3 separate regions of the Homo sapiens genome follow, and all the other regions are linked to region 2. The links are contacts of gene promoters, found by promoter capture Hi-C in blood cells and fetal thymus (Javierre and others, 2016). All regions are on one chromosome and are shown on one strand. The core of a region is centred on a gene start or on the middle of the fragment in contact, and the rest is flanking DNA. Distances in the headings are between cores, read along the strand shown.

The links. The method cuts DNA at HindIII sites, captures the fragments that hold promoters and counts their contacts. A CHiCAGO score of 5 or more calls a contact.
Region 1: a fragment that was not itself captured here is called in contact with the fragment with the promoter of RNF32 in region 2 in 2 of 17 cell types (M1 macrophages and endothelial precursors); the score reaches 5.5 in M1 macrophages.
Region 3: a contact is called between the fragment with the promoter of RBM33 here and the fragment with the promoter of RNF32 in region 2, in 10 of 17 cell types (total B cells, total CD4 T cells, fetal thymus and 7 more). The highest score is 9.9, in total B cells.

Annotation. Positions count from the first base shown.
Region 1 is chr7:155,821,913-155,824,903 of GRCh38, reverse strand. No RefSeq gene overlaps it. Among named protein-coding and RNA genes, the nearest start is that of SHH, 11 kb to the right of the region's middle. The HindIII fragment of the contact is 7,243 bases long and covers 1-2,991 here.
Region 2 is chr7:156,639,386-156,642,102 of GRCh38, reverse strand. RNF32 (ring finger protein 32) reads right to left here and starts at 1,329. Exons shown (of 9, transcript NM_030936.4): 1 at 1,292-1,329. It overlaps RNF32-DT (RNF32 divergent transcript), which reads left to right and starts at 1,568. Exons shown (of 4, transcript NR_026865.2): 1 at 1,568-2,717. RefSeq lists a silencer at 1,429-1,738 and an enhancer at 1,307-1,898. The HindIII fragment of the contact is 15,348 bases long and covers 1-2,717 here.
Region 3 is chr7:155,643,148-155,646,113 of GRCh38, reverse strand. RBM33 (RNA binding motif protein 33) reads right to left here and starts at 1,453. Exons shown (of 18, transcript NM_053043.3): 1 at 1,195-1,453. The coding sequence starts at 1,237. It overlaps RBM33-DT (RBM33 divergent transcript), which reads left to right and starts at 1,708. Exons shown (of 3, transcript NR_126344.1): 1 at 1,708-1,900; 2 at 2,510-2,646. RefSeq lists a silencer at 1,126-1,635 and an enhancer at 1,560-2,514. The HindIII fragment of the contact is 4,649 bases long and covers 1-1,705 here.

The DNA.
Region 1 (2,991 bases), core at 169-2,668, 820 kb after region 2:
ATGATATGTGACTAAATATTTGAAAGCTGTTGCCGTGCCTTATTTGATTTGCCTAATTACGTGTTTTACTGCCTCCTTTATGGAACTGTTGCCTAAGGTATCTGAAGTCTTTATACTTACTTCTTCCTTAATAGCTGAATCAAAATGCCACGTGATCACGTTGGCATGCAGCCTTGAAATTGCGTCCAAGCCCATTGACGTGTGTTTCCGGGAGGGAGATGACTCTCCTAGCCCTTGGTGGTAGAATGTTGGGAACCGTAGATCGGCCTTCTTAACCAATCTGATACAAAGGCTCTCCCAGCCACTCCGTCACCTCCTAACCCCATGGCTTCTCCACCAAGCAAAACAAAACAAAATAAAACAAAACTAGGGTATAAATATGTCAGGATAAGAAAGAAAACATGTACACAACATTCAAACACCGTCTGCCACTGGAAGAGACTCCAGGACAATTGTGCACATACTTGGCCTGCTACCATGGCCCGGCGAATTCAGCGGTTACCATGGCGGGGTAGAGCCTGGAGGAGGACTCCAGAGGGCAGGCTTTGTGTGGGCACTGCTCAAACAGAGAGCTGCGATTCAGTCTGTTGGCTTGTGTACTTTGGTGTGAGCCATCCTCACGCTGAAAAGGCCAAGAGGAGAAGTGTTGAGTTTGACTTGATCTCATGCCTTTAGGTTTCTCTTGACATCCCGCCCGCTGCCCCCCACCCCAGCCCGACCTCCTTCAGGCCCCTCTAACTCCCCATCTGGGGAAACAAATGACATTGAGCACTGTCCAGGGAAGATGACACTTAGGGGTCTCCCCTCTCTGTGGATAAACTGCTCTAAAAACAGCCCAGACCCCACCAACAACAAGTCCGTGCAGAAACCACAGGAACCGTCTTCACTAGGACAAAGAAACATGTTGAGAGGGCACTTCGAGGCCCGGGCCCTGAGACACCACTGGCAGCTCGAGCATTAGGCTTAGGAGAGTTGAGTTCTAGGTAACCCCACAGCAGCACACTCAGCTCCTGAGTTGAAAGACAGAGAAATGGAAAGAACAGTGGAGCACGGGCGAGAGACATGGCTCAGTGACTGTAGGCAAAGTCATTTAGTCTCTCTTCAGACCTAAATTTCCTCATCTGTCAAATTGAGTTAATAATACGTGGTCTGTCTCTCCCCCACAGCATCATGGCGAGGACTAGGCGCCCCCTGAAAACACATCATTATTAGTGGCGCCTCACCCTCAGGCTGCCTTGCACTGCTGCAGAGAATCCTCACGTGTAAAGAGCCAGAAAGCCGTGGAGAGTTTCCACCCTAAATAAAAGAATTCATGAGGTTATTTTTAAGAGTGTAGACGCTCCGTGAGTGACATGCACACACTAATGGGACAGGTCCCATCAGGATTCCCACGTGACGCCTTCACGGTCGCTCATCCCATTCGCTGCTCGGGAGGGGCAGGGGGAATACAGCCCCAGCAGAAAGAAACATTATTTAAATTAACTCAGTCCGATTGAATGTCCTCTTTTGTCAAACGAAAGAAGTGATCTCTGCTATGTGGCCTGATCTGTTTGAAAACAGTTGAATATTTTACGTTGAATTGCCTTTGGCCTTAAGTGTATTTGTGCCAACTTAAGTGGCACAAAAGTCCCAGAAAGAGAATTTGTAAGCAATGTCAGTTGGTCTAGGTGTGAAGCCACTTGCAGAGCACACCCTCGGCTCCAGGCTCTAGCTGTGCATCACACACTCACTGCCAAACCTCAGGGGATCCTATGACACCCACGAAGTAAACATTTGTCCCCATTTTGCTGATAGGGAACTATGTTCAGAGAGGTGAAGAGATTTGTCCAAAGTCATGCAGATAGTGGACTTCAACGAGGGTTCCGAGACAGTTCAAACCCACTGGCTCCAGAGAAATGACACTGATTCCAGCCCCAGTGCACGGTCACGTCCTGAAGCCCTGTGGTTCCTCCAAGCAGTGCTGTGGGCCCTTTGGCCAAAGGTGCAACACCTTGAAATAGGAGGAAAACAACGACCTTCCCTCCAGGCCCTCTCTGATCAACGCTATCATCAGAACAACAGAAAACCAAGTTTGCAGCTTCTGCTTGGGAAGAAAAGAAGCTACGTGGATTCCGAATTTGATATTTCAGCTGCCATAGTTTTTTGTTGTTATTTGTTGTTGTTGTTGTTTGCTTGTTTTGGTGTGTTGGTTTACTTTTTAAATAGCAACCACTGAAACTCATTCCATAACATGCCACTAGTTTAACTGGCTAATTAGTAAGAAACTTCTGGTAACTGACAAATATTTGTTGAGCATCTTCTGAGCTGGGAGCTGTGTGACCTACAGAGATGTGTAAGACAGATACTCTGAAGGCTTTCTTCTGGAAATTAGCAAATATATTGAGGATACTAATAACTACCCTGAAGTCAAAGGTCAAACAACAACCCCCAAAGTGAAATATGAATATAAGCAATGATCCAGAGGTCACATCAGCCAAACAGCTATGACATGATAAGCCAGAAGCCCCAGGGCCACAGGTCGAGAAGGTGGGAAAGGCACAGAGGAGGGGGAGAGGCTGCCACTGGACCAGGGGGCAGAAGCGAGACAGAGTCACAAGGCATGGTCTGGACTGAGTCATTGGTTCAGAGACATGGGGATCTGCAGGCTTGAAATGGGAGATCCGAGTTCAAGGGACAGAAATGCAGGGAGAGGAACACATCTGAGCTCTCCCCTCTCTGGATTCATGAAGAGTTTATGAATAAAGATCCCGGAACCATGGGCTGCAGTTACACCTCTGCTCCCCGCCCTCCAACAGGGTGTCCCGTGGGAGACCACGTAACCCTCTGAGCCTCCATCTTCCGGTCTGTGAATATAGGGGTGCCCCCACCACCTCGATGACCACACAGGGATGCTGCGGGTCCCGTGAGATCATGGGTGGAAACGAGCTTTGCCAACTTTCAAGTCCTGCCTGATTATAAAGTCTTCCTCCTATACCTCAGACTCAAGAGTCG
Region 2 (2,717 bases), core at 80-2,579:
TAATCCAAAATGTATTTCTAAGGACTAACACTTGTATTAAATTACTCCAACCGAAAGAACAAACTCACTAAGGCGTGAGTGGAGAGATAGAAAAGCACAGTGGAACCAAATCTCTGAGATATCCAGGGTTAGAAGTAAAAACGTCAGTCGCTGCTCAAGTCCTGGAGGCTTTGATGATGGTTCTTACTACAGCCCTTTTCTGTTCCCGTTCAATTCTGGCATCAAGAGATGTTTGAAATAAGTTCCACCCTGTATCTCATCAAGACAACTGAACTTGGAGAAATGGTGGAATTTAAAATACTGAAAGATCACTGCCAGAATTTTCTCAGTTCCTGCTTCCAAAATGCCTATAACCTGCAGAAGATACAGTTTGCATCACACTAAAAATGGTCCGGTCATAGCTGCAGTCTGCAATTTAATCTCAAGTTTCTACACAGTAGACCACTGTCATTAATATCAAGGTAAGAGCTTTTAAAACCTATACTCTCTTAAAGTCCTACGGTATCATTAAGTTTTAGAGTTTAAAATTCAGAATTTAAAGGTATTGAAAACCCTTCAAGTACCTACTCCAACTCCACTTTATAAATGAGAAAACCAAATACCAGGTGAGTCCTTCAATATATAATGAGCCTGCGGCACTGGTAGGGTTAGAAACGTAACCCTTGCCCAGTATTGAAAGCTAAGATTAACAGGAACCCGTTGCTTTGTAAATCCCAGTATTAAACGCTCAAGAGGCAGAGCTTGGTGGCAAAAACGATCACTGGGGTGCCAAAGCGAGTAACCTCAGCTAATTAAACACGCTCAATAAAAATACACGAGACCAAGCCTACGACGTAAAGATGCAATCCTACGTAGGGTCTTGGTGTTATCTCCTGCCTTCTGAACCCCGCTGACCGTTTTCTGAGGTTCCACTCATGCAGGAAGCGCGCGGTGACGAGGCTCCAATTCCTCTCAAAGCTGACACCACCCTGCACCTGGGGCCCCTGATGGCAGCCGGTCCTACCGGGTTCTAAAATTACCGACGTGGGATCACTGTTCTAAGGCTTTAGGCAGCCGTAAATTCGTACCCCTCAGATAGAAGGAGCTGTGGAAACTAACCAGGACCCCGAGTCCCCCAAGGAGGCTGCGCGCCGCTACGGGACCCGACCTCGCCTCACAGCTGCGGCCATCGCCGGCCCGGCTCGGAGGAGGCGAAAGCGAGGCCGCGGACGGCCCTCACCCCGAATCCATGGACCCCGCCCGCCTGGCGGGCCACCCTTCTTTCCGTCCCTCCCCCGAAGCCTCTCCGTGCCTCGACTCCTCCGCGAACACCGGAACCCAGGGACGTCTGCCCCTTTTCCCTCAGGCAACTCCCTGGCCGCCCACCGTTGCCGTAGCAACGCCCGCCTCCGCGCTCGCTCCCCGCGGGCTTGCTCACCAGCCCTGCCCCGCCCCGCCCCATACTGCGCATGCTCGCCAGCCCCGCCCGGCCCACATTGCGCATGCTTGCCAACCACGCCCTGTCCACACCACACTGCGCATGCTCGCCGGCCCCCGCCCCGCGCACGGCGTCAGCGTCTAGACGCAGGTGCGTTCCCGTCGAGGCTCGCGCAGCGGGCGTTTTTGGGGATCGCCTGGCGGGGGTGTTCGGGAGCCGCGGGCTGAAGCACGGGGGCGTGCAGGCGCCCAGGCCTCGTGTAGTGAGGGCCGAGCCCCGCGCCGGCTTCGCTGTAGTCCGCAGCCCCCGGCGGCTTTGTGGGCGCAGCCACGCTCCTCAGCCGCCCGCCCACCTGGGCCTGGGCCCCGGTTGTTTCCCTGCGGTGGCTGTGGTCGTTCCCGTTCCAGGGTCTCGAGCGCACCGCCCCTTCGCTGCGCTGTTAGTCGAGGGCAGTTTTCTGGGGGATCCCCCGATCCCCCCGCGCCGCTCAGGCGTCTTGGCTCGCGGAAGCGCAGGCGCCGACTGCCTGGCGTCGTCCGTGACTCCTGGCCCTTCTCTGTGGATCCCTTTGCTTCTCGTTGCGGGTTGTGTTTCCTGCTTCGTGGGCCTGGCCGTTTGCGTTTGGATGCAGGCCCGGGTGAGCCCTGCGTGGCCCGCTGGCCTTTTCCTGCTCCCTAGGTGACTGAGCCGCGTGTGTGACACATCGGAGTGAATTGAGGCAACGCGTTCCTTTCCAGGCTTGCAGCGGGCGGTGTCGTTCACGCTCCTGAGCAGAGCCTTCCGGTGCTTTACTCGACGCCACAAATAGTGCAGGGTTCCTCCCAGGGGCTGTCGCGAGCTAGAACTCTTCCCCGCCCCTGTGAGCTCGGGCTGTTCTTCCTCCTCCGCGTGGCTCACTCCAGCCTCGGATGTTTCCTCGCTGCACAGACCTGCTCGGGAAGACTCGAGAAGGCCACCCCAGGACTCCAGCTCTCCCCGGAAGGGCTTCCCCTCGGATTGCGTCTTGGCCCCTGGAACCCTCCCTCTGTATCCTCTGCTGTTCCTCTCTTGGCCTCCATTTGGGTTGTGGCCTGGATACTCTGGCTCGCTGCTTCCCTTCTCTTAAGGATCACAGCCCTGCACTGCCTGTCGTCCGGTGCCTGGAAACCATTGTATTTTTTGGTCTGATTTTGTAGTTGTTTGAGAACTTAAGTCTGGTCCCTCACACTCCATGCCCAGAAGCAGAAATGAGTAAAGTTTGTTTTATCTTTTCTTAATATGACAATTATTGTGTTGGTTCAACTTATGTTGTACTTTAATT
Region 3 (2,966 bases), core at 204-2,703, 1.0 Mb after region 2:
AGTTCCCAGGTTACACTGGGAATGCTATAAAACAAGTAATTCTGACCCCCAGAAAGATAGGTGAACTATACATTTTAAAATTTTAATTAGTCTCAGATGTAACACGCAAACATCATGTATTTAAACTGAAAGAAAAGTGGCATATAGCAAACCAAATTGCCAGAAGCGACATTCCTACACTTAGTCTTTTTTGTTTTTCCATTTTGTCAGGCAAACGTTTTGACAGTTGGGCCAAAATTCCTAAACAGGATGATAACAACGTAACCATCTGCTAGCATTTACTAAAAAATACTTCTCGAGTATACACTAGACTGGCTTTTCAACGTTTCAATGGTAAGAACTAATCCCAAATGCTTTTGTTATCCATATTTTACCATCTTTTCAAAGTTTTCAAAATAATCACTTAAAAAGTCACTTTCAAGTATCTCTCCACGTTTTTAAAACCCCCAGTGATATGTAATTTTACCTGAAAGTAATTTACCTACAATTTTTTAGAGATAGGTGTTTCATCAATACTGTTTATGCTTGCAAACAAGAAAAACTATCCAAAGGAACTGACTCAGTATCTAAACCTTTTGTGTCACGTTTTCACTTTTGGAAGACGCACATAAAACACTAACAGGTTATTAGACAACAAATAAGTTAATTTAAAACAGGGATTTATTGAGACTTTCTCAAGAAATCTCACTTTCCAAACTGGCCTACTGTCGCACATTCCTTCACACAGGTGAATCTTTTCGTTATGTTTTTGTAATGGGCTTCAAATCAATCTAAATCTGTCAGGATGGCCCCACAATCTTAAACACCCACCCTACAGCGACCTGCCCCGCTCTCCCTAAGTGACACTGTCTCGGGGGGTGGGGGGGGCGCTCTCCTACCCATAGGACACCAGGCCGGCTTCGGCACTTAATGCCCGCCAACGCCAGAGATGGGCCTGACACTTAGGCAGCCTTGCAAAGTAGAGGACACACAGAAGTTCACAGGTAAGTACGATCTGCACAGCGGAGAGGAGGAGCGAGAAAGGGAGAATGACAATAGCGAGGGAAGGCGAGGGAGAAAACGGAATAGGCCGAACACAAAGAGAGTCGGAGCCGGGGAGAGCCTCGTCCTCTCCTAAGCGGGGAGGCCCCCCGGCCTACACCCCCGCCCACCGCGGCGCGGTCCTGGCCCCCAGAGTCCGGCTGCCTCACGTACCTCCGGCGCCTGCTCCTCCGCTCGCTCCCAGGGCGGCCGCCATGGCACTCGCGGGGCCCGGCCTTCAGCCTCCCCCACCAAGCCAGCTGGTGGGCCGACGTGCCTGGTCCGGGCCCGGGTACGGGTGACGGAGGACAGAGAAGGGAGGGGGCTGCAGGAGGCAGAGGCGAAGCCGGGCGCTTCGCGGTCCACAGCTGGCCCTTCGCCTCCGCAGGAAGAAAACAACAAACTACCGCAACATGGCCGCGCGCCCGCGCCCGCCGCGGTGCACCCTGGGATGATGGAGGCCGGGAGGCGGGCGGGCGCCGGGGCCTGCCCCCGCCGAGGCCGCAGCAGCCCTGAGGCCGCCGCCGTGTTTCGGGCGGTGGGCGTGCAACGCAAACACGCGGCAGTCACCTCCGCCCGGCTCCTGAAACCCAAATGTTTGAAGCAGGGCGGGGACGACTGCTGGCCATAGGTCGATTCCGGGTTCAGTCGTAAGGCGCTTTGCAGCAGTCGGCAAAGCGAAGCTTTACGGCAGCCCGTCTCCCGTTAGGAGCCGGGGAGGCAAGGTCCAGCGTACGGTCCGGGGGAACCTTAACTGTCGTTTCTGTGCCTGGACAGTAGGTTGGAGAGTGGGGTCTGAATGAGCTACAGTAGTGAACGCCGACGGCTTGTGTTGAGGGCAGGAAAGGGTGCACACAGCTCCGGCAGGTGCTTCCGCGAGGTGAGATGAGTGCCGCGCGCGCCGGGCTAACGTGCACGCGCACTCGTGCGGCGCCCGCGAGCCCTCACTTCCTACAACCCGAGACCCTCCGGACCCGCGACCCCGGACCCCCGTCCCCTTCTCCGCGCCCGGCTGGGCAGCGGGCAGCGCCGGACCCTGATGGGCTCTCGGCCCTTACTGCCCCTGCGCCTTGCGGCCCTGAGAACAAGACGTGAGCAGGACGGATAGCGCCCGGCACTCATGTCTGAGTTTGCATTTTGAGCAGTGAGAAAGGTTAAGAAACGAAATCCTCATACTTGACATAAAGGAAAGGGTGCTGGGTGGTCAGACAGCTGTGGACGAAAGGGCTCAGGGGTTTTGGGGTGTGGGGCCCGGGAAGGCGCATCTGAGTGGTCGCAGTCGGGGAAGGGGGTTGATTAAGTACACACCGGCTGTAAACATTGATTCCATATCGGTCAATGTGGGGCTTAGGTGAGGCGTTCTGACCCAGCAATGAAACTGGAAAGGTAGGCAGGGGCCAGGATTCCGGACTTTGGGACGTTTTTCTGAGTCTATGGGGTCTATTGAAAGATTTTAGAAACAATTTACATGGTAAGATTTGTATTTTAGAAAGGTGACTGATACAACAACGTAGAGGACCCTGCAATGTGGAGAGGCATGAAACTGGAGGTCCAGTGCCGTGAGTTAACAATCAAGACGTCCATACAGGAGATGCATTGGTGGATGGGTGAAGAGATGATAAAACGGTACGTATAATAAAATGCTGGCCGGGCGCGGTGGCTCACGCCTGTAATCCCACCACTTTGGGAGGCTGAGGTGGGTGGATCACGAGGTCAGGAGTTTGAGACCAGCCTGACCAACATGGTGAAACCCCGTCTCTACTAAAAATACAAAAATTAGTTGGGCGTGGTGGCACGCGCCTGTAATCCCAGCTACTCAGGAGGCTGAGGCAGGAGAATTGCTTGAATCGAGGAGGCGGAGGTTGCAGTGAGCCGAGATTGCGCCACGGCAATCCAGCCTGGGTGACAGAGCGAGATTCTGTCTCAAAAAAAAACAAAAAAATTAT